7 separate regions of the Homo sapiens genome follow, and all the other regions are linked to region 7. Evidence: promoter capture Hi-C in 16 types of primary human blood cells and fetal thymus (Javierre and others, 2016). All regions are on one chromosome and are shown on one strand. Each heading gives the region's core, a stretch centred on a gene start or on the middle of the fragment in contact. The rest is flanking DNA. Distances are from core to core; before and after follow the strand shown. Region 1 overlaps IL17RD (interleukin 17 receptor D). Region 2 overlaps SLMAP (sarcolemma associated protein). Region 3 overlaps HESX1 (HESX homeobox 1). Region 4 overlaps APPL1 (adaptor protein, phosphotyrosine interacting with PH domain and leucine zipper 1). Region 5 overlaps IL17RD (interleukin 17 receptor D). Region 6 holds the start of IL17RD (interleukin 17 receptor D). Region 7 holds the start of ARF4 (ARF GTPase 4).

Evidence for each region. The method cuts DNA at HindIII sites, captures the fragments that hold promoters and counts their contacts. A CHiCAGO score of 5 or more calls a contact.
Region 1: a fragment that was not itself captured here is called in contact with the fragment with the promoter of ARF4 in region 7 in 2 of 17 cell types (endothelial precursors and M1 macrophages); the score reaches 5.8 in endothelial precursors.
Region 2: a fragment that was not itself captured here is called in contact with the fragment with the promoter of ARF4 in region 7 in 2 of 17 cell types (erythroblasts and endothelial precursors); the score reaches 6.9 in erythroblasts.
Region 3: a contact is called between a fragment that was not itself captured here and the fragment with the promoter of ARF4 in region 7, in 1 of 17 cell types (naive B cells). The highest score is 5.4, in naive B cells.
Region 4: a fragment that was not itself captured here is called in contact with the fragment with the promoter of ARF4 in region 7 in 1 of 17 cell types (naive B cells); the score reaches 5.1 in naive B cells.
Region 5: a fragment that was not itself captured here is called in contact with the fragment with the promoter of ARF4 in region 7 in 1 of 17 cell types (fetal thymus); the score reaches 5.0 in fetal thymus.
Region 6: a contact is called between a fragment that was not itself captured here and the fragment with the promoter of ARF4 in region 7, in 1 of 17 cell types (megakaryocytes). The highest score is 5.2, in megakaryocytes.

What each region holds. Positions count from the first base shown.
Region 1 is chr3:57,096,168-57,098,867 of GRCh38, forward strand. IL17RD (interleukin 17 receptor D) reads right to left here. Exons shown (of 13, transcript NM_017563.5): 12 at 1,429-2,371; 13 at 1-338. The coding sequence ends at 226. Among named protein-coding and RNA genes, the nearest start is that of SPATA12, 37 kb to the left of the region's middle. RefSeq lists an enhancer at 1,049-2,248. The HindIII fragment of the contact is 3,437 bases long and covers 1-2,700 here.
Region 2 is chr3:57,863,786-57,866,485 of GRCh38, forward strand. SLMAP (sarcolemma associated protein) reads left to right here. Exons shown (of 25, transcript NM_001377540.1): 11 at 763-931; 12 at 1,022-1,072; 13 at 1,457-1,507. Among named protein-coding and RNA genes, the nearest start is that of SLMAP, 110 kb to the left of the region's middle. The HindIII fragment of the contact is 770 bases long and covers 879-1,648 here.
Region 3 is chr3:57,196,960-57,199,659 of GRCh38, forward strand. It overlaps HESX1 (HESX homeobox 1), which reads right to left. Exons shown (of 4, transcript NM_003865.3): 2 at 1,794-1,993; 3 at 1,432-1,533; 4 at 879-1,336. The coding sequence ends at 1,238. Among named protein-coding and RNA genes, the nearest start is that of HESX1, 1.7 kb to the right of the region's middle. The HindIII fragment of the contact is 4,065 bases long and covers 1-2,700 here.
Region 4 is chr3:57,245,797-57,248,496 of GRCh38, forward strand. APPL1 (adaptor protein, phosphotyrosine interacting with PH domain and leucine zipper 1) reads left to right here. Exons shown (of 22, transcript NM_012096.3): 8 at 280-426; 9 at 1,599-1,681; 10 at 2,397-2,555. Among named protein-coding and RNA genes, the nearest start is that of APPL1, 19 kb to the left of the region's middle. The HindIII fragment of the contact is 1,551 bases long and covers 478-2,028 here.
Region 5 is chr3:57,129,537-57,132,236 of GRCh38, forward strand. All of the region lies in intron 1 of IL17RD (interleukin 17 receptor D), which reads right to left. Among named protein-coding and RNA genes, the nearest start is that of IL17RD, 34 kb to the right of the region's middle. RefSeq lists a silencer at 1-139 and enhancers at 1-711, 712-1,537, 1,538-2,364. The HindIII fragment of the contact is 559 bases long and covers 1,028-1,586 here.
Region 6 is chr3:57,164,945-57,167,644 of GRCh38, forward strand. IL17RD (interleukin 17 receptor D) reads right to left here and starts at 409. Exons shown (of 13, transcript NM_017563.5): 1 at 217-409. The coding sequence starts at 342. RefSeq lists silencers at 188-527, 548-597. The HindIII fragment of the contact is 4,210 bases long and covers 1-2,700 here.
Region 7 is chr3:57,596,029-57,598,728 of GRCh38, forward strand. It overlaps ARF4 (ARF GTPase 4), which reads right to left and starts at 1,316. Exons shown (of 6, transcript NM_001660.4): 1 at 1,046-1,316. The coding sequence starts at 1,112. It overlaps ARF4-AS1 (ARF4 antisense RNA 1), which reads left to right and starts at 1,761. Exons shown (of 2, transcript NR_132370.1): 1 at 1,761-2,023. It also overlaps a transcript of PDE12 not described here. RefSeq lists enhancers at 720-769, 790-939, 853-2,052, 928-1,633, 970-1,019 and 4 more. The HindIII fragment of the contact is 2,548 bases long and covers 328-2,700 here.

The sequences.
Region 1 (2,700 bases), core at 157-2,656, 500 kb before region 7:
TGGACATGCCTTTCAGAGCTCCATATCATTTTAGAAAATTGGAGAGTTTGTCAAGATATCCGGTAAAGGGTTGGGGCAAGGGAGAACAAGTACTGGCCAGCATTTCACTCCAAATATCCTTGTATGAGACCTCAGCTCCAAGTGGGCCATGCAACCAGGGAGATGAGCTGGGGAATCAGAGGGAGGCAGCAGCTAAAGTGGCAATGCTTAGACTCTTTCGTTTTGTTACAAAGGGGCGACCGCGTGGAGTTCATCAGTGTAGCTGCGGCAACCAAGATCTGCTTTGCATGACCCAGAAGAGAGGAGCTTGGAAGGAAGGGCAGGAGGTTCCTCCTCACCTAAGGAGAGAAGAGAGTACAGAGTCACACTGTCATTGCATTTCACTGGGCTGGGCAGGTGCTCATGGCAGAATGTGACTGGATCTGGGTTTGGACTATGGGCTCTGTATAAACGAGGCAAGAATCCCAACCAACTCAAGATGGGGCACTCTCATCCTCCTAACAGGTTCTAGTTCCCTTAGTTGAGGAAGGAAGAGATATTTCTTAAAAGTCAAGCGTTTAGGCCGGGCGCAGTGGCTCACGCCTGTAATCCCAGCACTTTGGGAGGCCGAGGTTGAGGGATCACTTGAGGTCAGGAGTTTGAGACCAGCCTGGCCAACATGGTGAAACCCAATCTCTACTAAAGATACAAAAATTTAGCTGGGCATGGTGGCGCATGCTTGTAATCCCAGCTATTCGGGAGGCTGGGCAGAAGAATCGCTTGAACCCAGGAGGCAGAGGTTGCAGTGAGCTGAGATCATGCCATTGCAGCCTGGGCGACAGGGTGAGACTCCATCTCAAAAAAAAAAAAAAAAAGTCAAGGGTTTGTATGCATGACTCCAACTAGTTACAGACATGGTAAGGGACAGCCTGAGATGGCATCTACCTGATGCTCCCTGCAGAAGTAGGCCTTCCTAGAGAGCCCTCATACCTGGGACCCTATGCTGAAGGATAGAAAGAATACTGTACCCATGAATCCCAGACTCAATGAATGTAGCTTTAAAGACAATGGGGGCGGGGGGTGTGAACATTACAGGTCTAAAAAAGACGCATCCACAAACTGTTACCCAAGACCCTTGGGGCCCAATGTGTTTTCGTGTCTGATGTTTTTGGAGTTTAGAAAAGTGATACAGTGCATAGTCTGTATGTGGCACAACACCCCTTGCAGGGTCTGGGCAGCTCACTATAATTTAGCATTAGTATTTCTGCAACTCAAACATGTGAGTACTCCCATCACCTGGTATAAATCAAGACTACCAAACGAGCTGTGTTCTCATCAGGTTTCATTGCCCAATAAGTTGGCACCAAAAGTGGAAAAACGCTTTGACTGATTTCAGAAGCATGGTCAAAGGCTGCGGCCTGTTAGGACCCGGCCCCAAAGGCACCTTACCCAGGCCTGAAGAGGAGGACACGCTCTCCGTCAGGGAAGACGTTTCTGTCTGGTCCGTCGAGAGTCCTTCCATCAGTGGCAGAGACAGCTCGGATGAGGGCACAGACGAGTCATAGATGCCTGAGTCCCGCGGCATGTCCGAGGGGCTGCCGGCTTTCACCGTGTGCAGCAGGGGTTGCAGGGCGGCGCTACCGTCAAGGGCAGGCCGGGCCTCCCCGTCTTGGTCCAGGCCCCCATGCTGACTCTCGTGCTGGGAGTCGGCTGGTCCGGTTGCCCCAAGAACAGCCGCCTCTACCTTTAGGCAGAAGTCACTCTCAGGCCCTGGTTTGCACATGACATCATTTAAAACCAAGCCCGAATCAAATTTCTCCAAGACTGGCTCCCGGTAGCGCAGTGGAGGAGGATGGAAGGGAACGAACTGCTTTTCGAACCAGTCGGGCTCCTCGTCAATAAACTGGTGCATGTTGCAAATGGCGACGTATAGGGACCGGCCTGACTTGCTCCGGAAGTAGTTCCTTCTGCTGCCCTGTCGCGTGTGCTGCCCCGGCTCCTGGAGGCCGTGGTCTCGGGAGTGCAAGTGGGAACAGAGCTGAGGAAGATTGTCCATGAGTCTGTACTTGGTACTCAGGTCTAGGATACCGGGGACGTCTCCCTCGCAGGAATAATCAAAGTAGACGGCGATAAACTTGCTGAGCGCCGCGGACGAACTCTGCTTGGCCTGGCGGAGCTTTTCGGCAATGGCTGACACCGCCACCAGGAAGAGCTCTCCTTTCCCCGAGCCTCGGCCACCTCCTTTGTGTTTGTAGTTCTTCTTGTCCACAAAGTACTTCATACCTTTGGAACAAACCACAATGATGAACTGGGACTCGTGGATCTTCTGGATGACCCATTCTCTCTGCCCTTCTCTACAGAGGCTGAAGTCTTCCCACAGGTCCAGAGCCACCTGGAAAGAGAACAAGGCACCTCACCCATACAGAAGGCTCGGGAAGAGGCTCGGGAAGTGAGTAACAGGAAGGGAAATGTCAGAAGGAGGCCATCTCATCTGCCCCTTAACCCTTATTAGCACAGCTATGTGCAGGCTCCAGGTTACACCATACCAAGGAACAGCTAAAGTTCCGTGGGTGATGGTCACACCCTAGTCCCTCTGCAAAAACTTGCCATCCATCCATTTTTGTATCACATGGAGTCATTACCACTCCTGCCCTACAAGTGAGGGGACAGAAGCGCAGTGCTTTTGGCACCTTGCCCAAGTCACACCCTACATAGGATATC
Region 2 (2,700 bases), core at 14-2,513, 270 kb after region 7:
GCTTGGGGGACGAACATCCAAACTATAGGCAGAGAGGTCTTTTTGAATAGTGATTGTACTGTCATCTCGTTACTAAATAATTTTGTTTAAAATTTCAGAATGTTAACATGATAGAACTTCAAAATTGAAATGATAGTAATTTTAGGGAAAAATCTTACTTCCCTCTTTAAAAATACGATTTTTTTTTCCACATTGACCCTTTACCTCTGTGTGTACTGAGCCTACTTGCTTCCTCCAAGTTTCTCTCTCCTGGGTGTTATGGAGGAATAACCCAATGCAGATAATTTTTGACATCAAGCCTTTGTCTTTATCATCTTTACTGGTTTAGAAATGTCAGGTTAGCCGGGCGCAGTGGCTCATGCCTGTAATCCCAGCACTTTGGGAGGCCAAGGTGGGCTGATCATCTGAGGTCAGGCGTTCGAGACCAGCCTGACCAACATGGAGAAACCCCGTCTCTTCTAAAAATACAAAATTAGCTGGGTATGGTGGCGCATGCCTGTAATCCCAGCTACTTGGGAGGCTGAGGCAGGAGAATCACTCGAACCCGGGAGGCGGAGGTTGCCTAGGCAACAAGAGTGAAACTCCATCTCAAAAAAAAAAAGAAAGAAAGAAATGTCAGGTTTACAGATAATGTTCTGTAGAACATTTCTTTTCTACAGAACAAACTTTTCTTAGAAGTTTAAGTGAATAAAGGCATTCCTGGGGCTCGCTCTTAAAACAGAGTTAGGTTTGTTAAATAACTGAATTTTCTTATTTTTCTAGGTAGCAGAGGGAAAACAAGAGGAAATCCAACAGAAGGGACAGGCTGAGAAAAAAGAATTACAACATAAAATAGATGAAATGGAAGAAAAAGAACAGGAGCTCCAGGCAAAAATAGAAGCTTTGCAAGCTGATAATGATTTCACCAATGAAAGGCTAACAGCTTTACAAGGTAAGTAGCTAATCCAGAAATTGATTTTATTTTATTTTTTTTCTTGTTATCTGTGAAATATCTTTTTTTTTTTTGGACTTTTATTTACAGTACGGTTAGAACATCTTCAGGAGAAAACTCTTAAAGAATGCAGCAGCTTGGGTAGGTGGCATCCATATTTCTTACTTAAACCTGAATTTTATCCTTAAACTTTTGACCTTGTTTACTGTCTCACACTGCATTTTTTAAGGGATGTTTTATGTATTAGGTATAAAGTATCTATATTCTTTTAGAAAATTTTCTTTAAAAATATGCTTGATTGCCACCAGTGGGCACCATTGTTTTCCTTGAGATGAGTGAAATTTCTGCTCTGAGATCTTCTACCTCGGGATATTTAAATAAGAAAAGTACATGAACAGCAGGATCCCTTTTAAAGTGTTCTATACAATCTTAATCTTAGGAATGCAGAATGCCATGGTTACACTTGAGACCACATTTAAAGTAATACTTCTTTGATCAGGCAATGATATACTGTCTTAATCCTAGGGATACAAGTTGATGACTTCTTACCTAAAATAAATGGGAGCACAGAAAAAGGTAGTGTAAAAAACTTAAATATATATATACTTTTTATGATATCATTTTAGTATTTAAGCAGGATAAGGAGTTCAGGGTTTTAAGTGTTTGGAATGAAAAGCATGCTCTCACAGATCATTGAACCCCATCATTTAAAAATCAAGCTTTCCTTTATTTTGTAAGAGTTGATGCTGTGATCAATTCTTAGATATCCCTTGTTATATGGAAATTTCAATTACTCAAATCAGAAAATTATTAAGTTCACCTTTAGCAATATATAATATAGATCTTTTTCCCCACTCTGTTTTTCGAAGAGCTGTACTACCATTTTGTTTCATCAAGTTCTGCCTCCAGTGATACTTGACCCCCATTTAAAACATTCGAGTTTATTTAACAGCTTATTGAGCCCTTGGACATATCATAGAAACTACTTTGTTTATCCATCTGTTTCATTGATCAGAGAGAACAGGGTCAGTTTTTTCTGCCATCAGAAAAATCTTTTATTAGTTGTTGGTTCTGTGACCCTTCTTTCTGGACAGCGTGGGTTCTCTCTTGCCAAAAACATATAGCCACTATTGGTTTTCCTGTCACTACACGGGGTACTTTTTACCCAGTGACCTCTATTATCCTTCAGTCTTGAAGATCCCTAGTCATTCTCCTTCTCTCCCCTTCCATCTAACATTAATTGAGCACCAACTATGTGCCAGACCCTGCGCTAGGTGCTTGGAGTACAGTAGAAATTAAACTCTTTTCTGTGTTTACCAATCTATGTGCCTTTCATCTCAGTTTTCTACAGAAGTTAGTCGAAGATATCAGAGTTGATACCCAGAACTTATTAAATATTTTTTCCCTTAGCCAGGCATTGTGGTGTGCGCCTGTAGTCCCAACTACGTGGGAGGCTGAGGTGGGAGGGTCAGCTGAGCCCAGGAGGTTGAGGCAGCAGTGAGCCATAATTGTGCCACTGCACTCCAGCCTGGGTGACGAGCAAGGCCCTGTCTTTAAAAAAGAAAAGAAAAGAAAAGAAAAGACAAAATATTTTTTCCATGTATCAAGGGATATCATAATAGTTCTTGGGCAGCAATCAAACTGGTAGAGTTAGGAGGTGGGTTTTTTGGTTCTTTTTTGGTTTGGTTTTGTTTGGTCAGGTTTTAATCAAGAGCTGGCAGTATAGGCTCAGGTAATTGTGTGTATGTTAGCTGCAAGGTCAAAACCTT
Region 3 (2,700 bases), core at 50-2,549, 400 kb before region 7:
TCTTGTTATATATCTTATCCTATTCTCATCTTTTTTTTTTTTTTTTTTTTTTTTGAGACGGAGTCTCGCTCTGTCGCCCAGGCTGGAGTGCAGTGGCGCGATCTCGGCTCACGGCAAGCTCCGCCTCCCGGGTTCACGTCATTCTCCTTCCTCAGCCTCCGGAGTAGCTGCGACTACAGGCGCCCGCCACCGCGCCCAGCTAATTTTTTGTATTTTTTTAGTAGAGACGGGGTTTCACCGTGTTCTCGATCTCCTGACCTCGTGATACGCCCGCCTCGGCCTCCCAAAGTGTTGGGATTACAGGCGTGAGCCACCGCGCCCAGCCCCCCATCTTTAATTGGCAGGTAAAATGGGAAAATGGGAAATGAAAACACATAGTTTTTGTTACTTAGAAAGCACCTTGATTATTTCCAGTGACTATGTCAGAGCACTTACAAAAGGTGGGTCAGTTATCCTACCTTCTCAGTCAACTTAATATTGCAGTTGATTAGAAATCATTTAAACTGGAAATAGATATAAGCTACATGATCACTATCACTAATGAATGAAAGTAAAGTACAAAATTAAACTAGAAAACTATTTAAAATTTTGCATTTATTTGCTGCTTACTTCTTTTGTGCAATTCAATACCAATGGTATAAATATGATAGCTGATGCTTGTATATTTCTACTTTGGCATAATGACTTTGCTTGGAAAAAAAACTTGAAACTAACATACTGTAAGAATTTGTTCTGATAAATGGTGAGAAATTCTCACTGCTTTATGCTATAAATCAAGAGAAGTTGAAGATTCATGAATAAATCATAATTTATAATATAGTGAAGCATAATTATGTTTCAAAATGTGCATGGAAGAAACTAATGAAAACAACTCACACTTTTGTTCTTCAGATTATTTTACTTGAAATACTTTATAATTAGAATCCAGCTTGTGGAATCACTTAGTCATGAGTCTATTGATTTTAACAAACTAATTTATTAGATTAATTTGGCTTACTTAAAAAATAGCAATCTTTTCTGAAAATGTTTATTAAAATATATATAAAAGGTCTTTACTATAACTAAAAGTGCCCAAATATGTACCATGCTATAATAGTATTTACAATATATTTTCAGAAAAAATGACAATATTCAGATTAAATGCAGGAAAGAAAACATCACATTTTAACACTTAATATTTCCACTGATTCTTCATGCTCTGCAATTAGAAGATAATTTCACTTGTTTAGTTTTCTATCTATTCCAGCAGATTTGTGTTGAAATTTTTTTTCGCCATTAGAAACTGTGATTCTCTATGGGACCTTTTCAGTTTTGCACGCCGATTTTGAAACCAAATCTAAAGTTAAGGAAAAATAAAATAGGTCTCAGAAACATTATTTTATTATTCTTAACATTTCAACATCATGAATAACAACTAAATTTGAAAATTACCTGGATTCTGTCTTCCTCTAGATTCAATTTTTGAGCTAAGTCTTCTCTAATATCGATACCAGGATAGCAGTTTACTCTAAAGACATTTTCTAACACTTCAATCTAAGAAAAAAAAATGTTGATATTCAGTATGTCTCCAAAAATGAGCTTTAATTTCTAGAGTAAAATGACTACATTTAAATCTTGGCAATTAATCTGGATGCCTTTTTAAAAATGATTACCTGGAAATTGTTAAAATATGGTAGTCTACTGTTTCATTAATAAGGCTTCTAAACTGAGATACCAAAGTGAGTGGGCTTTTGCTCAACTTGGTGTCAATTAAAGCCTTTATATTATCATTATTGGGTGAAAAAACTTCCCACCTGGTTTTGAGTAAAAGCAGTTCTTGGTCTTCGGCCTCTATACCAACTCAACTCTCTTTTCAAAGACAGTCTTTCTGAGGCTGAAAAGTAATTTTCATATTTCGAAGCTCTTTCTTCTGGCATTGGGTGATCCACCACGCTAGGGAATGAAATCCCACTGGGAGGATTTGGGACATGTAGACATAAGTTACCATCTTTCCCTAAAAACAAAAAAATAAGCCCTGTCTTAGATGGTCAATCTTATGTTCCACAAAGTTCTATAGAGGTAGTTTCAGGAACTCATCTTTCATTTCCTAGTGGAATTCTGGGGTTCACAAGAGAATTGCACCCCGTTAACCAAAAACCAATAAAAAATGAAGATCCTGTCTTGGTAATCCTGCCTCTTTGGTCTCTGAATGTCGTTTATTTTTCAGTGAAAAGAGATTTCAAATATCTGATGTGTCAAACAGGGAGAGATCTTCTGAAGTAAATGCAGGTTCTTGGGATTTCCTGTGAGTGAATTTATCCACTTTGCTCAATCCAAAGCTGATATTCTTTTAATTTCCCATAGGACTCAGTTGGAGGCATTAAAAGTCCTAGACTCTGGCTGGGCGTGGTGGGTCATGCCTGTAATCCTAACACTTTGGGAGGCTGAGGCAGGCGGATCACCTGAGGTCAGGAGTTCGAGACTAGCCTGACCAACAGGGTGAAACCCCCCTCTACTAAAAAATACAAAAATTAGCAGGCCATGGTGGTGCATGCCTGTAATCCCAGCTACTTGGCAGGCTGAGGCAGGAGAATCGTTTGAACCCAGGAGGCGGAGGCTGCAGTGAGCCAAGATTATGCCATTGCACTCCAGTCTTGGCAACAAGACCAACACTCTGTCTCAGAAAAAAAAAAAAAATAATAAATAATAATAATAAATTAA
Region 4 (2,700 bases), core at 3-2,502, 350 kb before region 7:
GGCCTCCCAAAGTGCTGGGATTACAGGCATGAGCCACCACGCCTGGGCTCAATGTGCATTTTGTAAATTATGTGGTTGGAAGTTAAACAGGAAAATTTGCTTAACCAGTATGTTGAAGGATTTCTAAAAGATCAGAAAACAGGAACATTAATGCTCAATTGCTTGTGATACTCAATTCCTTGGGTAGGCTCTTCTCCACAGCTCCTACTGAAGATAATACAAAATTAAGTAAATAATAGCAGATTATTTACTTAATTATTTAAATCTTTTCATTCAAAGGTGAAGTATGAAGTAACAGAAGATGTGTACACATCCAGAAAGAAACAACACCAGACCATGATGCATTATTTTTGTGCATTAAATACTCTTCAGTACAAGAAGAAAATAGCATTGTTAGAACCTCTACTTGGGTACATGCAAGCTCAGGTAAATACTGTACTGTATTTGGATTATAACTGTCCTAAAAGTTTTATATTAAGCTTGATATTTACATTAAGTATAAGGGTATTATAAACTATTTTCAACATCCTTGTTTATGTCTGTGTTTTAAGAAGTTATTTTTAAAATGTCATCAGACTATTATTTTAAGGAAGTTAGGAAGAATGGTTTTCCTTGCAAATGAAGATTTCAAATATTTTAGGTAAATGAAACCACTTGTTCACCATAGCTGGGGACTGAGAGAACTAAATGAATTTCAGAGTTACACCTATTGCTAGAGCTTCAACTAAACACTTGCTTCATAATAGATCTGAAAAAGAATAAACAAGTTTGAGTTTATCCCATATTCCTTGCATACTTCCTGAGTTAAAAATAATAGATGAACTCCAACGTGCCCAAAGAGTACATCAGGAAGGGGGCTAGAAAATTTGGGTAGTATAAGACAAAGTGTCAGTCTCCTAAAAATCAAGAGTTTAAAGAAAATTGAGGGCAGGCACGGTGCCTTATGCCTATAATCGAGCACTTTGGTAGGCCGAGGTAGGAGGATCATTTGAGTCCAGGAGTTTGAGACTAGCCTCAGCAACGTAGGGAGACCCCATCTCTACAAAAAATGAAAAAATTAGCTGGGCTTGGTAGCATGCCTCGGTGATCCCAGCAACTTGGGAGGCTGAAATGGAAGGATCCCTTGAGCCTAGGAGGCTGAGGCTGCAGTGAGGTTTTATTGTGCAGTCTGGATGACAGACGAGACCCTGTCTCAAAAAAAAAAAAAAAAATTGAATCTATTTAGGTAAAAGAGTACTTTACTGATTATTCCTCAGATAGAAAACTTATCTTTGTAGTAAACATGAAATACTTTATATAATTTATTGGAAATACTTTAAAATTTATTTTCCAATTTTAAAAGATTGTTAACCATATGTATATATTACTTGTTCCAATTCAAAAAATATAAAAGGATATGCAGTGGAATTTAAGTCTAACTTCCTTAATGGCTCCCTGTGCAGTAGAAGTCACAAACTACAATGTATTTTTACACAAATGGGAATATTCCTTTGTTTTTTACTTAACCATGTGTCTTAGAGATTGTTTATATGATTTACTTTAAGTATTGCTTAATCTATTTTTGTATTGTTCAATTCCCCCCACTCCCCACTCTCCAGATAAGTTTCTTTAAGATGGGTTCTGAAAATCTTAATGAACAACTGGAAGAATTTTTAGCTAATATTGGAACAAGCGTTCAGAAGTAAGTATTTTTTTCCTTAAAATTGAAAATGAAATGATGTGAATGATAACAGCTCAATGACATAATGTAAAGATATTTATCATTTACTTTCCTGAGGGAATATTTTCCCTGCCATGAGAGTTTCTTATGTGGTTCATGGTTACTTCTTGTTTTTTTTTAACCTCTTTTTTCCACAGATTGTGAACTTTGAATTTCATAATAGTGATAATTTTATTGATTCTACACTCAGTTTTATGTCTGAATATAACAGACACATAATAGTAACTCCCCATAAGTGAAATTATCTTTAAACTTGAAATTGTGGGAGTTTGATGGGAGATTACTAAATATTGTTTCCAAGCCATGAAAGCTTAGAGAGAAAGCAGTTCTTATCAGGTTCAAAATGCCGAGCAGTGTATGTGGTCAGTCCACGGTATGGAGAGAGATGAAAGTGATTGTTGTTTTAAAGGCACAGGGCAGAACAGTTTGAAAATTACGCCAAAATCAGGCATTCGGGGGGCTTCATTTGTTTTTTGAATTTAGTATTGTTTCCAAAATATCTAAGTTTCAAATAAACTGTAAACCTGTTTTAAAATATATTCGTGTTGTTTTAACCACCCATGCCGCTCTTCCTCTCTTTAAGAAAACATACCCGAAACAAATATGCAGGTAAACATGATTGGTAAGGAGTTCTTTATTGGTTGTGATTTGTAGCAAATAATCTGTTCTGTGTCAGTGTTCGCAGGGAAATGGACAGTGATATAGAGACCATGCAACAGACAATAGAGGATTTGGAAGTAGCCAGTGATCCCTTATATGTGCCTGACCCAGACCCCACCAAATTTCCTGTTAATCGAAATTTAACCCGAAAGGCTGGATACCTTAATGCTAGGAAGTAAGAAAACTATTGTTATTTTTGTATATTGTGTATCATGTAAGACAATACCAAATGAATATAGTAAATAATTGATGTCTGTCATATTTTGATTTTTATTAAAGGTTGAAACTTTTTAGAGGTGTTAGTATTTATGTGAACTTTT
Region 5 (2,700 bases), core at 57-2,556, 470 kb before region 7:
TCTGGAATTCTGCTTTTACAGCACAAATGCCTATAGAAATGGGGGATTGTGACGTTGCCATGGGGACCCAGCCTCCTCCACCCCAACAGGTCCCCGGCAAGCCCCACGCACATTTCCTTCAAGGTGGATTTCGCATATTTGGAAATTATGGAAGGCCATCATTTTAGGTTTCAGTGTTAATGGAAATATTACAGGACATGCTAGAAAGCAAGGCAACCCCTTCTGTCAGCCGATTAAGTCTGTCCACATGGTGGTCTCGGACAGAAAAACCTTAAAATAACAGTGGGAAGCAGTAAGTCAGCATTAGGCCCTTTTTCAAAATGTGTGGCTTTCCCCCACTTTCTCTAGGAAGGAGACAGGCTTCAAGCATCCTTTTAAATGCCCCTGTTCTCTAGCTGCAAAAATCCAAGTGAGTCAACCTGTGCTCAAAACTGCCTGCCATTAGTAGCCCACCTCAGGCTCCAGGTAGCCTTACCCTTGCTGAACTGAACCTCTAATCCCACCCTGCAGGGCTACTGGCCAAGGCAGGGTGTATTTGCTTTTAATTACTGATGACCCTGTTTTTGTTAAGAGGAAAAGTTTACTAGAACCTTTGGAGAATCCTGTGAAAAATAATCCTTACCCAATTTCCCCCAGAAACTTTTCATACACAATTTTGGGAGGTTCCCAGAGCTCATGAAGGCCACCCAAGGGCCTCTGAGGGGTTCACAGGCCCCCAGGTCCAAAGCCATGTTTAGACACAAAAAATCCCAAGACCCCACTCAGAAATCAAAGGGTGCATCTTGGCTTTGCCAGTTCCCTGGGATGCAGACCCTCCAACTACCTCTCCAGGTGTGAATTCAAATAGCAATATATAAAATATCCACACATATACCATAACCACCCTTGGGTGACCCCAGCTGGTTCTCTCTGTCCTCCAGGAGTGAATATTCTCCCATTCATTCTGACTAGAATGTTCTAAGCTAAAGCCAGAGTGACCCTTCTAATAAGTATCTGCCTCTCTCTGCAAGGTCTGGCCTTTCCCAGAAGCTTTCTGGGGGAGAGGGAAGTAGTCAGCCCAGAGGTGAAGCCACAGTCACCAAGCTCTGACGGGCAGATGGGAGGAGAAACAGGAGTAAAGCCTCCTGTTTCACGGCCCTGCCCGGCCCAGGGGTGACACTCACGGTGTTACCTCCTGATCAAACCATTTCCATCTAGTCTCTTAGATAGCAAGTCCTGAAACATCCCCCTGAGATGCAGTCAGGGTTTCTGAATGCCTTTGAGTGTGTGTGTTGTCAGTATGTGTGCCCAGCCACAAAGCCAACAACAACAACAAAAAAGCACCAGGAAGTCAGCAGTGCCGGCTCCAGGTGTTAACACTTAGCGCATCCTGCCCAGCCCCCACCAGCTTGAGGCCAGCCGCCTGGGAGCCGGACACAGCAATTAGACCCTTCCCAGGCCAGGCGCCTTTGTCCCCTCGCTAACATCATTAGTGTCTGACTTCCTGTGCACAACGGGGCCTCCCGGGGGGCAATCACCGGCTGACCGGGGCAAGGCATTAGACTTCCTTTGTCAAAGACCCTTAAATGTTAACAAGCATGTGAACAAGCTTCCCCTCCCCCACCCCCTCCTACCTCAGCTGTTCCTCCAGCCCACCACTCTCAACTGTCTTGATTCTCCCCAAGCTGTGGGAATCCCAGTTACTTGGGAGAAATATCAAGTCTCAATGTTGGGCGAGCAGCACTGCCTTTCTACAGAAAGAGCCTCCAAACCTGATTTCCTAGAACCTTTCAGTATAAGCATGCAACTCACACTCGCTGAGTGCCCACTGGTTACAAAATACCACCGTCCTGCCTTAAGAAGGGTGAAACAAAGAAAGGTGAAAGTATTCAGCCAACAGGAGTCCCAGGCTGTGCCACACCCAGCCCAATGCCCATCAACCACAGGTGCACTCTGTTCATGTGTTCATGGACTGAAGTACAAAGTTTGGCCTCAAGATGCAAGGACTTTGAAGGTTTGAGTGATATCCTGAGGCCTTCAGAAAAACACTGGTGAGATCTGAAAACGGGGTGAGTGTGAGTTGCTATACAGCTGCAATCCTACCGTCATCCCTCTCTTGGCAATACTATCACCACCAAGGCCAAAATCACTTTGCTCTCATTTACCCCTCATTACCAAGACTCACAGCTTTTTATTTGGGGGAGAACTGTGGTGCATGTGTGCACACACATTGGCACATGGTATTTTCAGGAGGCTTCTGGACCCCTGAAGCCCCCAGACCTCTCACCTGCCTTATAGTCCAGCTCCACTCAATAGCTTGATAGCTTAAAGCTACGTCTGTTGAATAATAGAGAGTGGTTTTACTTCGGTGATTAAAAACAAAATTCAGGCCAGCCATGGTGGCTCACACCTGTAATCCCAGCATTTTGGGAGGCGGAGGCCAGCGGATTGCTTGAGCTCAGGAGTTTAAGACCAGCCTGGGCAAAACGGTGAAACCCATTCTACAAAAAGTACAAAAATATTAGCCAGACATGGTGGTACACACCTGTGGTCCCAGCTACTTGGGAGGCTGAGGCAGGGGGATCGCTTGAGCCAAGGAGGTTGTGACCGTAGTGAGCCGAGATCACACCACCACACTCCAGACTGGGTGACAGAGCAAGACACTGTAAAAGAAGGGGCGGGCGCAGCGGCTCACATTTGTAATCCCAGCATTTTGGGAGG
Region 6 (2,700 bases), core at 117-2,616, 430 kb before region 7:
CGGGGTCGGGCAGCCGCTTTCATCTCGGCCAGGGCCGGAGGACACGCGTCCGGGGAGGGAAACCAGGAGGATGCGCGGGAGGAGTGAGACCCAGGCCGGCCGCGGACCCCGCGAAGAGCAGACAGGTTGGCGCGGGCTCGCCTCCCCGCGAGCACCTGTGCGCGCTGCGTCCCCCGCGAGTTGGCGACGGCAAGAAACCCGCCGCCCTCGCCTTACCCTCCAGCCACAGGTGTCGGCGCCCCGCGCGCGGCCGGACCCGCCAGCGGCCACAGCCAGCTGCGAGCCGTTGAGGCAGGCGTTGACCGTAAAGAAGACGGAGCAGAGCTGCAGCCACGGGGCCATGGCCGTGCGCTCGCCCAGCCAGGCCGTTCTCTGCGCCCCGGCCGCCCGCCGCTGGCCAGCCCCGAGTGGGCGGTGGCCGCGGCGGCCGCGGCGGCAGCGAAGGGGACCGCACTGGGCATGCGTTGCCAGCCCGGGCCCCGCCCCCACCCTCAGTCCTCGTGTGCTGGCCCCGCCCCCACAGCCTGGCCCTCCAGTTGTGGCCCTGCCCCCGTAGACCACGCCCCTCTGGTCACGCCCCCCAAGCCCCCACTGAGACTCTGGCAGCCGCAGTTTCTTCCCCCTCACTTAGTAGATCTTTTTTTAATCCAAAGGATTTGTCCAAGTGATGCTCACTCTATGCAAAACCTGAGGAAAACACAAAGAATGTAATAATAATAATTTTAATAATAATTTAATAAACACCTGCTATGTGCCAGACCCCTTTCTGTATACGCCCAACCACACAAGGAAGTGTATTATTGTTATCCCAGTTTTAGGCGCAGAAAAGTTAGGGGAACGTGACAGAGAAATCCTGGCTCCACATTTACTAGTAGGACTTTGGACAAAAGGCTTGCTGTCTCCACAATACTTCCTCACCACAACCCCCCGTCCCCCTCACCCTCCTGGAAGCTAGAATAAGTATCCTAGTCTGGGGAGAGTTCTGTTGGTTGAAACATAACAAGTGCTCCATAAAGGCTACAATCTATCATTAACTGACTCTCATAAGGTCACACAGCTGTTACCTGCCAGACCTGAGATCCAATCCAGACCTGACTAAAAACAATACTCTCAGCTACTACACTTGTCAAACATAACCTCATGAAGTGGATATTATTTCTGTTTGGAAGAGGAAACTGAGGCTCAGAGAAGTGGAGTAGCCCAAGCTATCCAGAGTTTCACCGCACTCTTCCCAGCGCTTTGCCTTTTATCTGAGCACCTAAACTCTCCCACTTTGTCCCTCTCCACTACCCCCTTCCTCAAGAATACCACCTCCTCTTCCTAAGGGCTTTTTCTACTTCTGACTTTGTCCCCGTGTCCGATACATTTCTCCAGCCTGGATCCAAAGTTATCTTCCAAAAACACAAATCAGACTACTGACTTATCCCAATTAAAACTCTAGGCTGAGTGCAGTGGCCAATCCTAGAGGATCGCTTGAGTTCAGGAGTTAGAGGTAACAGTGAGCTATGATCCTGCCAACCGCACTGAAGCCTGAGTGACACAGTAAGACCCTGTCTCTAAAAACAAACAAACAAACAAACAAACAAACAAACCTACCACCACCACCACCAACAAAAAAAAACAGTAAAATTATGTGTTCTGTGTTTGGAGGAGGATTAATAAAAATAAAATCAATAAATAAAACTGTTCTATGGTGGCTCTTATGCAAAGGCCATTTAGAATAAAATCCATACTGGCTTTCTCTTCCACTCTGTCTTTACCACCTGGCTCCTGCTGCACAGAACTCCCCCCAGCCCCAGCCTTATCTTGGTCTTTTTGCCTCAGGAAACCTTGGAAATTGTCACCTCCGTCCATTCAACAGGGCAGCCTCCTCTATATGACTCTCCTTCCAGGGCCCAGAATCCCCTCCCTCTCCTTCTCTGGCCTGGCCTAAGCTCAGCCACTGCTAACACAGGATTCCTGCACTTTCTCTTGTGGCTTGTGTCTCCACCACCCTGCCCACACGTCCTTGGAGGGCTTAAGTGGAGGAAGAGAACTCTTCTTGGTAATGCTAGCAGAAGTCTTGGGGATTTGCTTGGAAGTAGCTACATCTAGAACCAAGGAGTAGAGCCAGCCTCACCTGAACTTCAGGGGCTGGAAGTGTGAAACAGTGCTTGCCCAAAGGAACACTGACATTATTGCCAGGGAGAGGGAGAATGGGTGCTGGGTTCCCCAAACAACAGCATCCACCTCAAGACCCAGATGCTGGGCAGAATTTTTTTTTTTTTTACCTCACTGCCTGGAATTCAGGAATTCAGCCAGACCCAGTGAGGTTTACCATACCCTCTTCAGACACCAGAATAGCTAGGATCCACAGAAGGCTGTTCTGGAGTAGCCTTCTGTGAATAGACCTCAGGAAGCACATCACTCCTTTGGAGGAGCTGCTGGTTCAGTGCCTCCCTACCCTCCCTCACATTCTTGGTACTGTCCCTGGGTTGTTCTCAGCCCCCACAGCAAGGATGTCCAGCGTTTGGCCATGAGAGTCAGGGGTGCCAGGGGCTGAGATGAGGCCAGGACCATATGGGTTTTGGTGAAACAGGGAGGAAACAATGAGGCGACCAGCTCCTTAATCTATGTGACATTCCAGCCTATACATGCTTTATAACTTATTAAACAACCCCATGCTAAGGGACATCTGTTAGAATCAGTGATTCAAAAATA
Region 7 (2,700 bases), core at 66-2,565:
CAAAGTTAGAGGGGCTTCTTTCAGCGTTATTCTAGTCCATGGAGCTCAGCTGTGATGTAGACTGCTTACAGTAACCGGGAGCGGTTGCTTACTTCAGCCAACTGACAGCCCTTCTCCCTCAGCTGAGCAAAAACACGCCCCCTAAAAAGTAGTTTTTAAAAAGTCAACTTTCTAAAAAGAAATTTTAAAAAAATTGTAGTTACTATTTAACAAGACTACCATAAAATTCAGCGTCATGATGTTCAGTTACTTGAAAATTTATCAGGTATTTTTTAAAAATTCGTTTCTAAAATTTTTTTGCATTAGACCTTAGACCGCCTAAAAATAAGCTTAAAAACCTAGGAGAATAAACCAAACACATTTAAAGTTTTTGAAAATAGTCAAAGAAATAGAAGATAAGCTCAGTTTTCGGAGAATGAGATTAACAAGGAGCGAAAAACTTGAAACGGAATCCAGCGCAAGGCCAAGTTTAGCAAAGTGAGCGCTGAAGGACTCCAGACTCTTCGGAAACCTTGGGTGCTCCCTGGCCACCGCAACTTCCTGCCCCGGGCGGCTCCAGGCTCCGGGTGGCCGCTGGCTTACATACCAATGGAGTATGCAGGGACTGTACACGAAACGCAGAAGGGGAGGGAAAAGGCTGGAGTTGCTCTGCCTCCCTCCTGACCGCTGTCCACACCCGGGCAAGAAGGTATGCAGATCGCACCCCCAGAAAGGGCCTCGCCAAGTGTTTGCTTCCCAGAGTTGGCTTTCCCCACATCTCTGCCCAATGTTGTCCAGCTTTCAATAAGATCAAGGAGAAAAAGCCGAGTCCAGAAAGAAATCTTGCCCGAAGCCCTGTCCCTGTCTCGTCTGGCGACAGATCGGGGGCGGGGGGGATCGCTCACCCTCCGCTCCATTGTTCCCCCTTAAGAATTCCTTCCGACCCCCGACCCGGCGCCCCTCCCCCACCACAGCGGGCGGAGGAAAAAAACAGGCCCAGAGGCCACCCCAATTGTGGAGACCCTGCCTTTCCCAGGTCCCGCCTGACTCGCAGCCCCTCACTCACCCATCAAAATGCGCATCTGCTTCTTGCCAAATAGTCGGGAGAAGAGGGAGGAGATAGTGAGGCCCATGGCGGTAGTGGCACTTGTGATGGGCAGAAGCAGAAGGGGTTTGGGGCGACCCCGTGCTTTCTCCTTTCAAGCTCCCAGGCAAACTAAACGAGAGGGAAGAGAAAGAGCGGAGGAAGAAAGAGGGAGGCAGAAACGTCTCAGTGGCCCCTGTGCCGATGAAGATCCGGCACAGGAATAAGCCGGTAGAGGACCTGCTAGGCGACTGGCGCGGCAGCTCCGGCTCTAGCCTTTAGGCTCTGGCTGTGCCACGTCACGCGGCGGCCGCGGCGACTCCAGCAGCGGCCCGGCCCCTCCAACGCGGACAGAATCGCGTCACCGCCGCCCCATCCCCCTGCGCTTCCGGTGCGCCCGAGCCACTGCGCTTGCGCCTGCAGGGGATTGGCCAGTTTCGCTGACGAGCATCTCTCGACGGCGCCACCGCCCGGACGTGGCCCCAGGAGCCGGGAGAGGCCGGCTGAGGCACATGCGTACTGGGAGACGGACAAAGTCCCACAATACCTCGCTTCGTCACTGCCAAATCAGACTCAGGGTGAGACGCTTCCGCCCGGATGAAGGTATTGTCGGGGTGATAGTCCTTGCTTCCGGAAAGGCGAGCTGAGCATTATGGGTTAGGTGAGGAACCTCGCCCTCTTCTATTACGGTACGCGCGATGGGTATTCCCTGATGCCATGAACTTACACGTTTCACACACGGGACCAGACGCTTGCTTTAGTTGACGCATGAAGACCGGTCCGGTCTTTTGCGGAGAAAAGTGGTTAAAAGCTGACTTGTGGGCCGAGAAACTGTGGCACCCTAATGAGCTAGGGCTAGACGCTTCGACCACCACGCCAAGTGATTCTGAAGATCTCTAATTCTGTCAAGGCGAGAGCGCTCCAACACGTGTTCATCGGCTGTTGCTTTTTAAAGAGAAGGCAAGGAGGAAGTCTTGCTTTTCTTGTACTTTTTTTCCTAGAAGCAGCATTAAAGATTTACTCCTTATGTTGAGGAAGCGGAAAGCCTCTTCACTTTAAAAGTGTTTATGATCGGGCCTGGCGCGGTGACTCACCGCGCCCGGCCTGCTACACCTTTTAAAATTCACAGCAATGATAAATGTATTAGACTCATTGCCAGGATAAAGATTTAATCTATTTTTCTAGTAGTGCCGTCCTATGTGGTTCTGTAGTTGCTTATTCCAACTGGTATATTTCCATAGGATGGGGTTGAATAAGAAAAACTTGCAAACTTTCAGAAACAGTAAGTTATTTTTATATTTTTGAAGGCTTGCTGAGTAACGCTTCTCTTGGTAGCACTACCTTATCTACCCTTCAGAGACTGTTATTTCTTAGGAGTGGCCCTGGGCAATTAAAAGCAAAAACTTCTGGCCGGGCATAGTGGCTCATGCCTGTAATCCCAGCACTTTGGGAGGCCGAGGCGGGCAGATTACGAGGTCAGGAGATCGAGACCATCCTGGCTAACACGGTGAAACCCAGTCTCTACTAAAAATAGAATAAATTAACCGGGCGTGGTGGCGGGTGCCTATACTCCCAGCTACTCCGGAGGCTGAGGCAGAAGAATGGCGTGAACCCGGGAGGCGGAGGTTGCAGTGAGC